Regions from separate parts of the Homo sapiens genome. Here regions 1 and 3 are each linked to region 2. Evidence: promoter capture Hi-C in human tissues and cell types (Jung and others, 2019). All regions are on one chromosome and are shown on one strand. The core of a region is centred on a gene start or on the middle of the fragment in contact, and the rest is flanking DNA. Distances in the headings are between cores, read along the strand shown. Region 1 overlaps VGLL4 (vestigial like family member 4). Region 2 holds the start of RAF1 (Raf-1 proto-oncogene, serine/threonine kinase). Region 3 overlaps SLC6A6 (solute carrier family 6 member 6).

Evidence for each region. The method cuts DNA at HindIII sites, captures the fragments that hold promoters and counts their contacts. A contact is called where the count stands out against the background at its distance.
Region 1: a contact is called between a fragment that was not itself captured here and the fragment with the promoter of RAF1 in region 2, in 1 of the 25 tissues and cell types used here (aorta).
Region 3: a fragment that was not itself captured here is called in contact with the fragment with the promoter of RAF1 in region 2 in 1 of the 25 tissues and cell types used here (psoas muscle).

What each region holds. Positions count from the first base shown.
Region 1 is chr3:11,613,732-11,617,168 of GRCh38, forward strand. The region is part of intron 1 of VGLL4 (vestigial like family member 4); the gene reads right to left. Among named protein-coding and RNA genes, the nearest start is that of VGLL4, 28 kb to the right of the region's middle. The HindIII fragment of the contact is 5,661 bases long and covers 1-3,437 here.
Region 2 is chr3:12,662,679-12,666,137 of GRCh38, forward strand. RAF1 (Raf-1 proto-oncogene, serine/threonine kinase) reads right to left here and starts at 1,439. Exons shown (of 17, transcript NM_002880.4): 1 at 1,135-1,439. RefSeq lists enhancers at 521-1,131, 1,132-1,743, 1,355-1,704, 1,745-1,814 and a silencer at 945-1,164. The HindIII fragment of the contact is 15,309 bases long and covers 1-3,459 here.
Region 3 is chr3:14,456,050-14,459,342 of GRCh38, forward strand. SLC6A6 (solute carrier family 6 member 6) reads left to right here. Exons shown (of 15, transcript NM_003043.6): 6 at 1,901-2,033. Among named protein-coding and RNA genes, the nearest start is that of SLC6A6, 55 kb to the left of the region's middle. The HindIII fragment of the contact is 4,812 bases long and covers 1-3,293 here.

The DNA.
Region 1 (3,437 bases), core at 712-3,211, 1.0 Mb before region 2:
AGAATTCATATAAAGGTCCCAGCCCAGAACAGGCAATTTATTTATTACACTGTTTGTTGGATTCCATCTGTTGGTGCAATTCCCATTTGAAGGATAAGATGGCTGAACAAAGGGAACCTCTAACTGTCCTTCTCGCTACTCATGACAGGCCCCCGCCTCGAATACAGTCAGCCACTAGCCGATGGAAGGGGTCAGGAGACACAGTACCCAAGAGCCTGGGTGAGTGGGTGCTCCGAATCTGCTCCACCAGGAGCCGGCGACGTCATCTCAGAGCAGCTGCCTGACTTTCTATGACTGTTTCCACATGTGTGAAAATGGTAGTGTGAACCCACACACAGGCTCAGAGCGATACCCGGCACGGTGCCGCCTCCTCCCCACACACACTCTGGACTTACAGGCTTTCTTCCATGCACGTTTCTCCCTCCCTAGAATGTGTTCAGAAGCCCTCTCTGCCAATGCATACTCATCTGCACTTTCAAAACCCGACTTGAGTGCCTCTTGTCAGCCTCAGCCCCAAGAGCACCCCTTTTGGTGCCATCTACCTGGGCTGAGCTGCCTGGCAGCGTCCCTTGTGACGTGCTGCTGGCTCCAACTCAAAAACTACTCATTTCTCAGCAACACCATTGTGTGCTACCGCCAAACAGGCGATCTTGCTCTCTGCAGTAGGTTCCAGTCCAGACCCTGAGGAGTAAGATGGTGGTCCCGGAAACCAGTTCAAATTTCTCACTGGCATACAGAGTGCTGAAGGAAGGCTGTGTATAGGCCCCCCGATTCTGATCGTGAAATCTCATTATCAGTTCCAAGCCCCCCACGGAGCTGCAGTGGGCAGGTAGCTGGGACGAGACACATTCCCAAGTCAGATATCTCAGCCAGCCATCCAGGTTTCCCACGGAAATTCATTAACTCACTGTATTCCTTACTATTGCTAAATATGCTGGTTTCAGAAGCCACAGAGTGAATTTTCCAAGGATTAAAATAGGACACGAAGTTCAAAGATGTCTCAGTCCTGACACAGTGGAAGCAGCATTAGGGACTTGGGCACGCACACCATTCGAGAGCCTGACAACCCTGAAGACAAGTAAAGCGAGTAACTTAAAGTCAGCTTCAGTCAACCTTACTGCTGAAACAGCTACATGCCCAAGTAAATCATTTTAATTTTTCCAACTTTTAATTTCAAAAAATTTTAAAGCTACCCAAAAAGTTGAATGAGAACAAGAACATCCCATTCTCTTTACCTTGATTCACCTATCATAAGCATTTTTGTCAGTTTGTTTTAGCTACATGCATACACGTTTTCTTGCTGTGATTTTTGAAAGTATTAATAAGTGGGAGACATCTTATTTCACCCATAAATACTTAAGAACAGGGACATTCTCCTTCAGAGCCACAATACCATTATCATACCCAACAAAGTTAAAGTTGACGTATTGTCATTATCTAATATCCAGTTCACATTCCAACTTCCCGAACTGACCTGTCTCTTTTTTGGTGGCAGGGAGGGTTGGGGGAGGACTTCATTAATTAAGGGTCATATGCTGCTCAGTGAAGTTGTCATGTTTCTTTAATCTCCTTTCATCTAAAGGAATTCTTTTCTCTTTCGTGACACTGATGTTTTTAAATAATGCAGACCAATGAGCTGTCCCTACAAATTTTGGTGGCCTAATCATTTCTTTATGATTAGATCTGAGTTAAATCTTTTTGGCAAGAATACTACCCAGGTGATACTGTGTGCTCCCACCGCACTGCACCACACCGGAAGGACCTGGCGCCAGCCCATCCCATCACTGGGGAAGCAGAGCCTGCAGTACACACAGATTGCTCCTTGCTCTGTTAGAAACAAGTAAGCTCCTCCCTTTTGTAGTAATAGTTTGGGGGTGTGAATCCTGTCATTGTCACTCAATCACATACTCATTTTTTTGTTTGGGTTCTGTTTTTCTATTATTTTTATTTCCCATACTCATTTATTACACACCTTTAATTTGCAGTTTGAGAGTGCAGAGCTAAGCTGGATTAAAGACAGGGTCCCCAGATACAATTCAGCACAAGTCCAACTGGGGACACATTTTCATACAAAACACATTGAAAGAAAGACAGACAATACAATCAGGAGTAGCTTATACTCTGCCTGGAATAAAGCAGGTGCTTAGCAAATATTTGTTGAATAAGGGACCTGTATGGTTCAGGCAAATAAAAGCTATTAGGCCAATCTGCATCCTTTCCATTCTTCCTTCTCACATCACCTCACCCCTGGGGCTGAAAGGAAGTCTTCGAACGTGGCCACCCTGCCTCCCACCACGAGAGATCAGGATCCCTGACTGATTGGATTGCCGGAGTAAAGGCTCAACTGCCTCAACCTGATCAGCCCATCTCACCCTCTCTCTCCAGCCTTACCCATCTCTCTTTCTCTTCCCTCCCCCGCCCCTCAGACTCCACTGCTCCTGAGGTGTGGTCTGCACACGCAGGGGATGCCTCCCACCTCCCCTCCCACCTGCCTGGAACAGTCCCTCACTTTCAGGTCTGGTCTAGAGTGCAAGCCTCACCTTCTTCAAGCTCTTCCTCAGCAAGTAAGTGTTCCTTGGTCTTCAGTGTCTGAAAACATTTACAAGCATCCTGCGTTATGGCTCTTAATCCTATCGCCTAACGGTGGTACTATTTACAAACATTTTCACATGGCTAGGAAGCCTTCAGGCCACTTCCTAGACCCAGCTCATTCCCTAGGGCCTCCTTTCCTTTCCTAGAGCAGGCTCCAGGGATAAGCCCTGTCCTTGTCCTTTGCTATGTCCTTTCATAAAAGCTGCCACCCATGCTCTCTTATTGAGACAGTCCTCATCCCAAAACGATAGTGAAGTGGGACTTGTGTCCCTGCCACATCACCCCAAAAACTGACACATGGACATGGAACCTTTATTTAAAAGGCTAATTGTTGAATCCAGTCCTGTCTAAAGAATGTATACAATTTAGGACTGGCAGAAAAAAAATCAGAGGATGTGGTTCAGTGAAAGGCATTGTTGTGCCTGGGATGTTTGTAGGACTACTCCAGGAACTAAGGAAAACACACAGATGTTTGAGATCTGGTCTTTGCCTCGAAAATTTTAGTTCTAGTGGGAGTGATAAGTTATGGAGATAAAGAACTGTAAGGATGGAACATTATAAATGCCAAAATAAATCAGATGCTCTTGAAATGGGTGAATTGCATGGTATATTAGTTATATCTCAATAAAGCTGTTACCCCCAAAGAGCTTCTGGTTATGTAGGTTAATCTACTGACATTTATCATAGTAGGAATTAAAATGGGGAAGTTTTAAAATATTAATTAATTTGAAATAAAAAATAAAAAGAGATGCACTTTTTATTTTTTTAAAAAAAGAGAGCGATGCCACACACATTTTATATGAGGGAGACAATAATTCTAACTCTAACAGGAGTGGGATTTGAAA
Region 2 (3,459 bases), core at 189-2,688:
CCAGCTGTTCCCTGAGCTCCTCCTCACCCGATGAGCACTTACTCACAGGTGTTTCAAAACTCGACTCAGAAGTCTCCTCGAGTGTAGAAGCTTCCTCAACTCCTCCCCAAGCAAAACTAACTGTTCTAAATCCCCATAACACTTGATAAGCCAATTCTTATCACACTGCATTGTTTTCACGCCTTAGGAGCGCAGGGAGGGCAGAGTCTCTCCACTCAGCCCACAGAGGACCAGGCAAGCAGAAACGCTCAATGAACGTGCCTTGAATTCATTTTCCACTTAGATTAAGTGACCCCCTAGAACCCGTTCACATCTCAAGGATACACTAAGTTCCATTCCTTCTTCCCACCACAGAATGAATACCAGGGGCACACCCAGAGCCCTAGAACGAGAACAATGAATGAACACGGCCGCCTCGCCTCTCACGACGTCCAAACCCCTCTCTCTTGGGCATCGACTCGCTCGCAGAGCCTCAGCAGCTGCAGAGCTGAAGCGTCCCGGCGGCTCTCGCGTCACACAAAAGACAGCCCTGGCTCTTCATTCCAAAGCGTCCTGAGGCCAATCCTCTATAAGTATCCCAAACCTTTCATTAATAACCCAGAGTCCTGATACCCAAGGCTAGTCCTGATACCCAAGAAGAGGCCCCTGTGCCTTTGTGGTAGGGCACTGGCCAGTTTCCTCCTCTCTTACCCGATTCCTCACGTCGTCTCTAAAAGGGTGTCACTTGACTGAAGTACCCTGAGAAAGGGTGCAAGCCCGGGTCCCACATTCGGCGGCCCAAGAGAAAAGGAATTGGCCCATCCAAGTGACAACAGATATGGGGCAGCTCTGGGCGGATTTTCCCACTGCCAAATATGAGGAATGCGCATGGCATAAGGGTGGCGTTGGCACGTTTCCGCCAAACACAAGGAAATTTGAGTGGGATGTGGGAACTCGGCTCGCCGGCCATGACACCGGACTCCGGGGCCCCCGCCCAACGCTACCCCAGGGTGACAACGGCCTGGCCCAAGCCCTCTGCCCGGCAGCCGCGGGGCCGCTCCATCAGCGCCACCCAGGCCCGGTCGCCCTGGAAGCCGATCCCTCAGCCCCGCCGCCCGGCTCCCCCGGCATCCACGACCCGGTCCTGCCACCTACCTGAGGGAGCCAGGCCGCCCCAACGTCCTGTCGTTCGGCGGCAGCTTCTCGCCCGCTCCTCCTCCCCGCGGCGGGTGAGGGAGCGGGAGGCGGTCACATTCGGCGCGTCCCCAGCCCAGGGGACGGAGCCCCGAGCAGCCCCCGCATCGTAGCAAACGCGCTCCGCGCCTCAGGGCACGCGCCCCAAAGCCCGGCCAGCTGACCCTTTTCGGGGCCCAAAAAAGGCAGCAGAAAGCCGTTCCCGCCTCACAATCGTTTTCCTCTTACTCCCGCCATCTAAGATGGCGGCCCAAGCGCCCGCGATTAAGACTCTCGGGCGGCCCAGACGAGCGAGCCCTCGACTCGGTGCTCGTCCTCCCGACCTGCGACGCCACCGGCTCTCCGATTCTGCGCGAGCCCTACTGGCAGTCGACTTCTAACTTGGCTCGGGCATCCATCGCTCTGGCCTGAACTCAGGCCCCGCCCCCGGGGCGTGGCCTAGCGATCTGGTGGCCGCCATTTCGAAGCTGAAGAGGTTAGGCGACGCTGACTTGCTTTCAGGAGAGGCACTCGGTAATCGAGAAGAACCGGCTTTCGGCCAGCCAGGAGTGGCCAGAGGCCTAGAAGGGGAGAGGAAGGCCTGCCTGCCCAGCATTGCAAGGCCCAGCGATCACCAGACGTGCCTCAGGACACAGGGCACAGTGTCCAACTTTGACGCGTCCTCTCCGGGCACTTTAATACCAAATCACGGCTCCGCCACTTGACAGCTATGTGGACAGTCCCTGAACCTTAAACGGTCTTTTCCTTGTGTGTAAATTCCGAGTTCATTTTTCCCCCATCACATTAGCAACAAGTTAAAAAAACTGATAATATCCGGTTTGGTCCAAGGTATATTGAAACCTGTTGTGTGCCCTCGCAGCGCTATCACAGTGGAACTTGGACATGTTAAAAGTATATATCCTTCCTCCCGGCAGTTTCACTTCTAGACACTAATTCTAGAGAAATAAGTATACACATACACAAAAAGCTATGTGTGAAGATATTTAATGCCATATTATTTGCATTCTGGAGAAACACTGGGGATGAAATGAAGATTAATAGGAAACTGGTTAAGAGAACGCTGCTACACATCCAATCTGGGTTGTCATCCATCCAAGAATGAACTAGATAGTTACTGAATTTAAAAAACAACAAAAAAAGGGCCCGGCGCTTTTTTTGGGATTACTCCTGTAATCCCAGCACTTTGGAAGGCCGAGGCAGGCGGATCACCTGAGGTCGGGAGTTCGAGACCAGCCTGACCAACATGGAGAAACCCCGTCTCTACTAAAAATACAAAAATTAGCCGGGCGTGGTGGCGGGCGCCTGTAATCCCAGCTACTCAGGAGGCTGAGACAGGAGAATCGCTTGAACCCGGGAGGCAGAGGTTGCAGTGAGCCCAGATCGCACCATTACACTCCAGCCTGGGCGACAGAGCGAGACTCCGTCTCGAAAAAATAAATAAATATAAAAAAATAAAAATACCAAATTAGCTGGGCATGGTGGTGCATGCCTGTCATCCCATCTACTCGGGAGGCTAAGGCAGGAGAATTGCTTGTACCCAGGAGGCGGAGATTGCGGTGAGCCGAAATCGCGTCATTGCACTCCAGCCTGGGCAACAAGAGCGAAACTCTTGTCTCAAAAAAAAAAAAAAAAAAGACATGGCTGGGCGTGGTGGCTCACGCCTGTAATCCCAGCACTTTGGGAGGCCGAGGCGGGCAGATCACTTGAGGTCATGAGTTTGAGACCAGCCTGGCCAACATGGTGAAACCTGTCTCTGCTAAAAAATACAAAACAAATAGGCCGGGTGCGGTGGCTCACACATGTAATCCCAGCACTTTGGGAGGCCGAGGCGGGCAGATCACGAAGTCAGGAGATCGAGACCATCCTGGCTAACACAGTAAAACCCCGTCTCTACTAAAAATACAAAAGATTAGCCGGGTGTGGTGGCGGGCCCCTGTAGTCCCAGCTACTCAGGAGGCTGAGGCAGGAGAATGGCATGAACCCGGGAGGCGGAGCTTGCAGTGAGCTGAGATCGCGCCACTGCACTCCAGCCTGGACAACAGAGTGAGACTCCGCCTAAAAAAAAAAAAAAAAAAATTGGCCAGGTGTGGTGGTGCGCGTCTGTAATCCCAGCTACTCAGGAGGCTGAGGCAGGAGAATCACTTGAACCCAGTAGGCAGAGGTTGCAGTGAGCCGAGATAGCGCCACTGCACTCCAGCCTAGGTGACAGAGCCAGACTCTGTCGCAAAAAAAGGAAAAAAAAAGCCATTAAGTTAAAAAAGCAGAACATAATGTATGATCTTATTT
Region 3 (3,293 bases), core at 149-2,648, 1.8 Mb after region 2:
GGGGTGGCAGCTCTGTGTCACCTGCTGGCTCTGTGACCATGGGCAAGTGGACCCACCAAGCCTTCATTTTCCCTATCTGTAAAATGGGGTGAATGGCCTCTACTCCTGGGATCAGATGAGATAAACTGAAAAGGCCTTGGAAAGCAGGTGGTTGCTGGTAGCTTTTATTTCGTCCATCAGCATTATCATGTTGACATCCCTGGTGCCAGGGGGAGCCCACTGATGTCGCTGTGACCAGCAAGAAGAGGGCAAAGAAAAGCTGTCCTGTCTTATGGCTGTTAGTGGGAGTATTTCACGGATCGGTCCTACAGTGACATGTGAACTTGCTGTCCTCCCAGTTGAGTCCATTCATTCACTCATTCACTCAACAGGTCTTTATTGAGGTCCTCCAATGGGCCAGATGCTGTTCTAGGTGCTGGGAACACAGCAGTAAACTAAAGAAAGGCCTTGCTTGAATACCAGTTGAGAAGGGAATCTTGGATTTATTCAAAGTCCTTATGTTGAAGCTTCTCTAAAAAAAATAAAATAAAAATGATAAAGGGTCTAGCCTGGTGTGTGTTCCGAGAACCAGAGCCCTGACTGTGGGGGTAATCCCACGGACTGGCTGAAAGCTTGGGATGTTCCAGAATGCTTCCCCAAGAGCATCCTGGGCAGGAGCTGTTATTCTCATTTTACAAAAGGGGAAACTGAGGCACAGAGTCACACTTCACTCCCTGCCCCTCCTGCATGGGAGTGTGACCTTCAGACAGGGAGCTGACTCCCATTAGAAGGAAACTCAGCTTCTTCCAGGGGTTCGCAAACACCCTGGAGCATGCAGACCCTGTCTCTTGTGGCCAGCAGCCTGTGGTGGACAGGTAACCTGGGAGGCCCAGTGGGCAGGGCCGATGTCTCTGTTCTCAGCGTGGCTGTCCTCGATCACTGTTGCAGCAGTCAGAGCTCTGGGACCATGGGTGCCACTTCTGGGCATCAAGTTTCATGGCCTGGGCTGTCAGTACCCTGCATCGCCCTGGCCTGCTTTCAGATGCTGTCATCCATAAGAATGTCTGGGAGTAGGTACTTGTGTGCTTGTTTAGCAGGGCAGCAGGAATCAGCTCGGATTGGTGGGAGGCTTAAGTCTGGACTCCAAAGACCCACGCTCTGCCGTGTCATCCTGGGCAGGGTTGGTGACTGTCCCGTGCCAATTATCCTTAAAACCGTTTACCTGCCTCTCTCTGAGACCCTCAAAACCCTGGCAGGGCAGGGGAGGAAACCAGCATTGCTTAGGTGCCGGCTGTGTGCCTGAAACTTCCCTGGGCATCTGAACACCACAGTTAACATCTGCAAAGGTTTATCAAGTGCTAGCTGCATCCCAGACCCTGAATTTAGGACCTTGTGTGACTTACATTTTAGTGAGAGATCCAGGTTACACAGGGATGAATAAAATAATAAGGGACAATATTGGGGGAGGGCAACACTTTATAGACGAGGAGCCAGAGGTCTGGGAAAGTTGGCTAACTTCGTTCTGTCAGTGACGGAACAAACAGTAGAGCTGAGAATTGAACCTAGTGTTTGGCCCACGGTTGGCACTGAAGAAGGTTCTGCTGAAGTCCCAACAGAAAATCAGTGCCCATTTCACAGATGAGGAAACTGAGGCTCAGGGGTTCCTTAACTTGCCTGAGGCCAGACTAAGTTGAACCTGGGTTTGCCTGAATCTGGAGTCTGAGTCTATCCTTTTCTTTTCTTTCCAACAACTCTGTCTCAAGACAAATGGGGATTCCTGGGTTTGGAAAGGTGAGGTGACTTATGTAAATGCAGCGCCTCAGGTGGGATTTGACCCCCAGCCTGTTAATGTCCGAGCCTTGGCTCTCTCTACTCCAGGGCCAGGCCCCTCACTGACTCCTGGCTCTGTGTTTGCTTCAAGGCGCAACGTGCTGAGCTTGTCCCCTGGAATCGACCACCCAGGCTCTCTGAAATGGGACCTCGCTCTCTGCCTTCTTTTAGTCTGGCTAGTGTGTTTCTTCTGCATCTGGAAGGGCGTCAGGTCCACTGGGAAGGTAAGTTGGACTTCTGTCCGTCCCCTGCCTCCTGGAGAGCTGTGCCAGGCTGGCCCTCTCCCCCACTTCCCGCCTGCAATTAGCCACGCCCCAAGAGGGAGGTGGCCAGTGGTGGCGTGCTGGTAAGCCCGCCCTCTGGAAAAAAGTAAAACTCAGGTTTGTTGTAGCGTTTGTCCATTTCATGGTGTCAGTGCTCCCACCATGTTTGCTTTCAAGCTGTCCACAGTTTAATGACCAGCTCACAGAATTCCTGAATATTGAAGAGCCAGGCTCTCAGGAGCCTACACGAGCTAGCCCCATCCACCACAGCTTTCTCATCTCAAGGTATTGGCAGTCAGTGCAGATGGTAGCAGATAACTAATGTTGGGCTTCTAATAAATAGGTTAGCTGGTAACAGGAGGTTAGCCAGCAACCGTGGTAAGAGCCATTAGCCACAGCATGGACCCTCGCTTTGCAGAGGGGGCCACAAGCATTCCCATCAGCATTGCAGGGAGCTTCGTGGGCCTGCCCCAAACCTACAAACTCCAAGGCTGCGTTGTAACATTATCCCCAGATAATCCAAGAGCACTTTATGGGTTGAGAGGCACTGGCTTAGATTTTAGCTGCTAAATCAGATTAACTGAGTTATAACTAACATTTCAGCCGGCACCTCCAATGTTAGTTGTTCAGGAAAGCGTTAGCTGATAATTAAATCATCCACTCATGGCCAGGGTGTTAGCTGTTAACCAAAGTATTATTCATAACTGGAGTGTTTGCTGCTGATTAATATGTCACATAGTGACTAGGATGTTAGTGATTAACAAATGTAAAATGTTAGCTTGTAATTTTAAGGTTTTAGGTATAACTGATACATTAGCAATAGTGGAAATGTTAACCCATAACTGAAATGTTACCTGTTACTAATTAGAGCTGAACTGTTCCCTGAAAACCTAGACACTGGCTGTTGTCATGGCTTTGCTGATGCCAAAGGCTGGTGCGGGGGTATGTTGTGATCACAGGTGTGAGCCTGAACCCAGGGCCCTAAGCTATAAAGAACAAAGGCGTTTGCTCATCTGCCTTTAGATAGTGCCCTGTCAACGCTTTCCCCAGTGACTCACATCCCAAAAGAGGGAACGTCTCTTTAAGATCAAAAAACCCCCAAAAGTCAAAGGAGCGTCTTAAGGTAGCATTCCAGATGGAGCTGTGGGCAGTGACCTTAGCTGCCCCAGCCACACAGTGGAATTGAGGGTTGAGGAATGTGTCTCCCTGGATAAAGAGCCC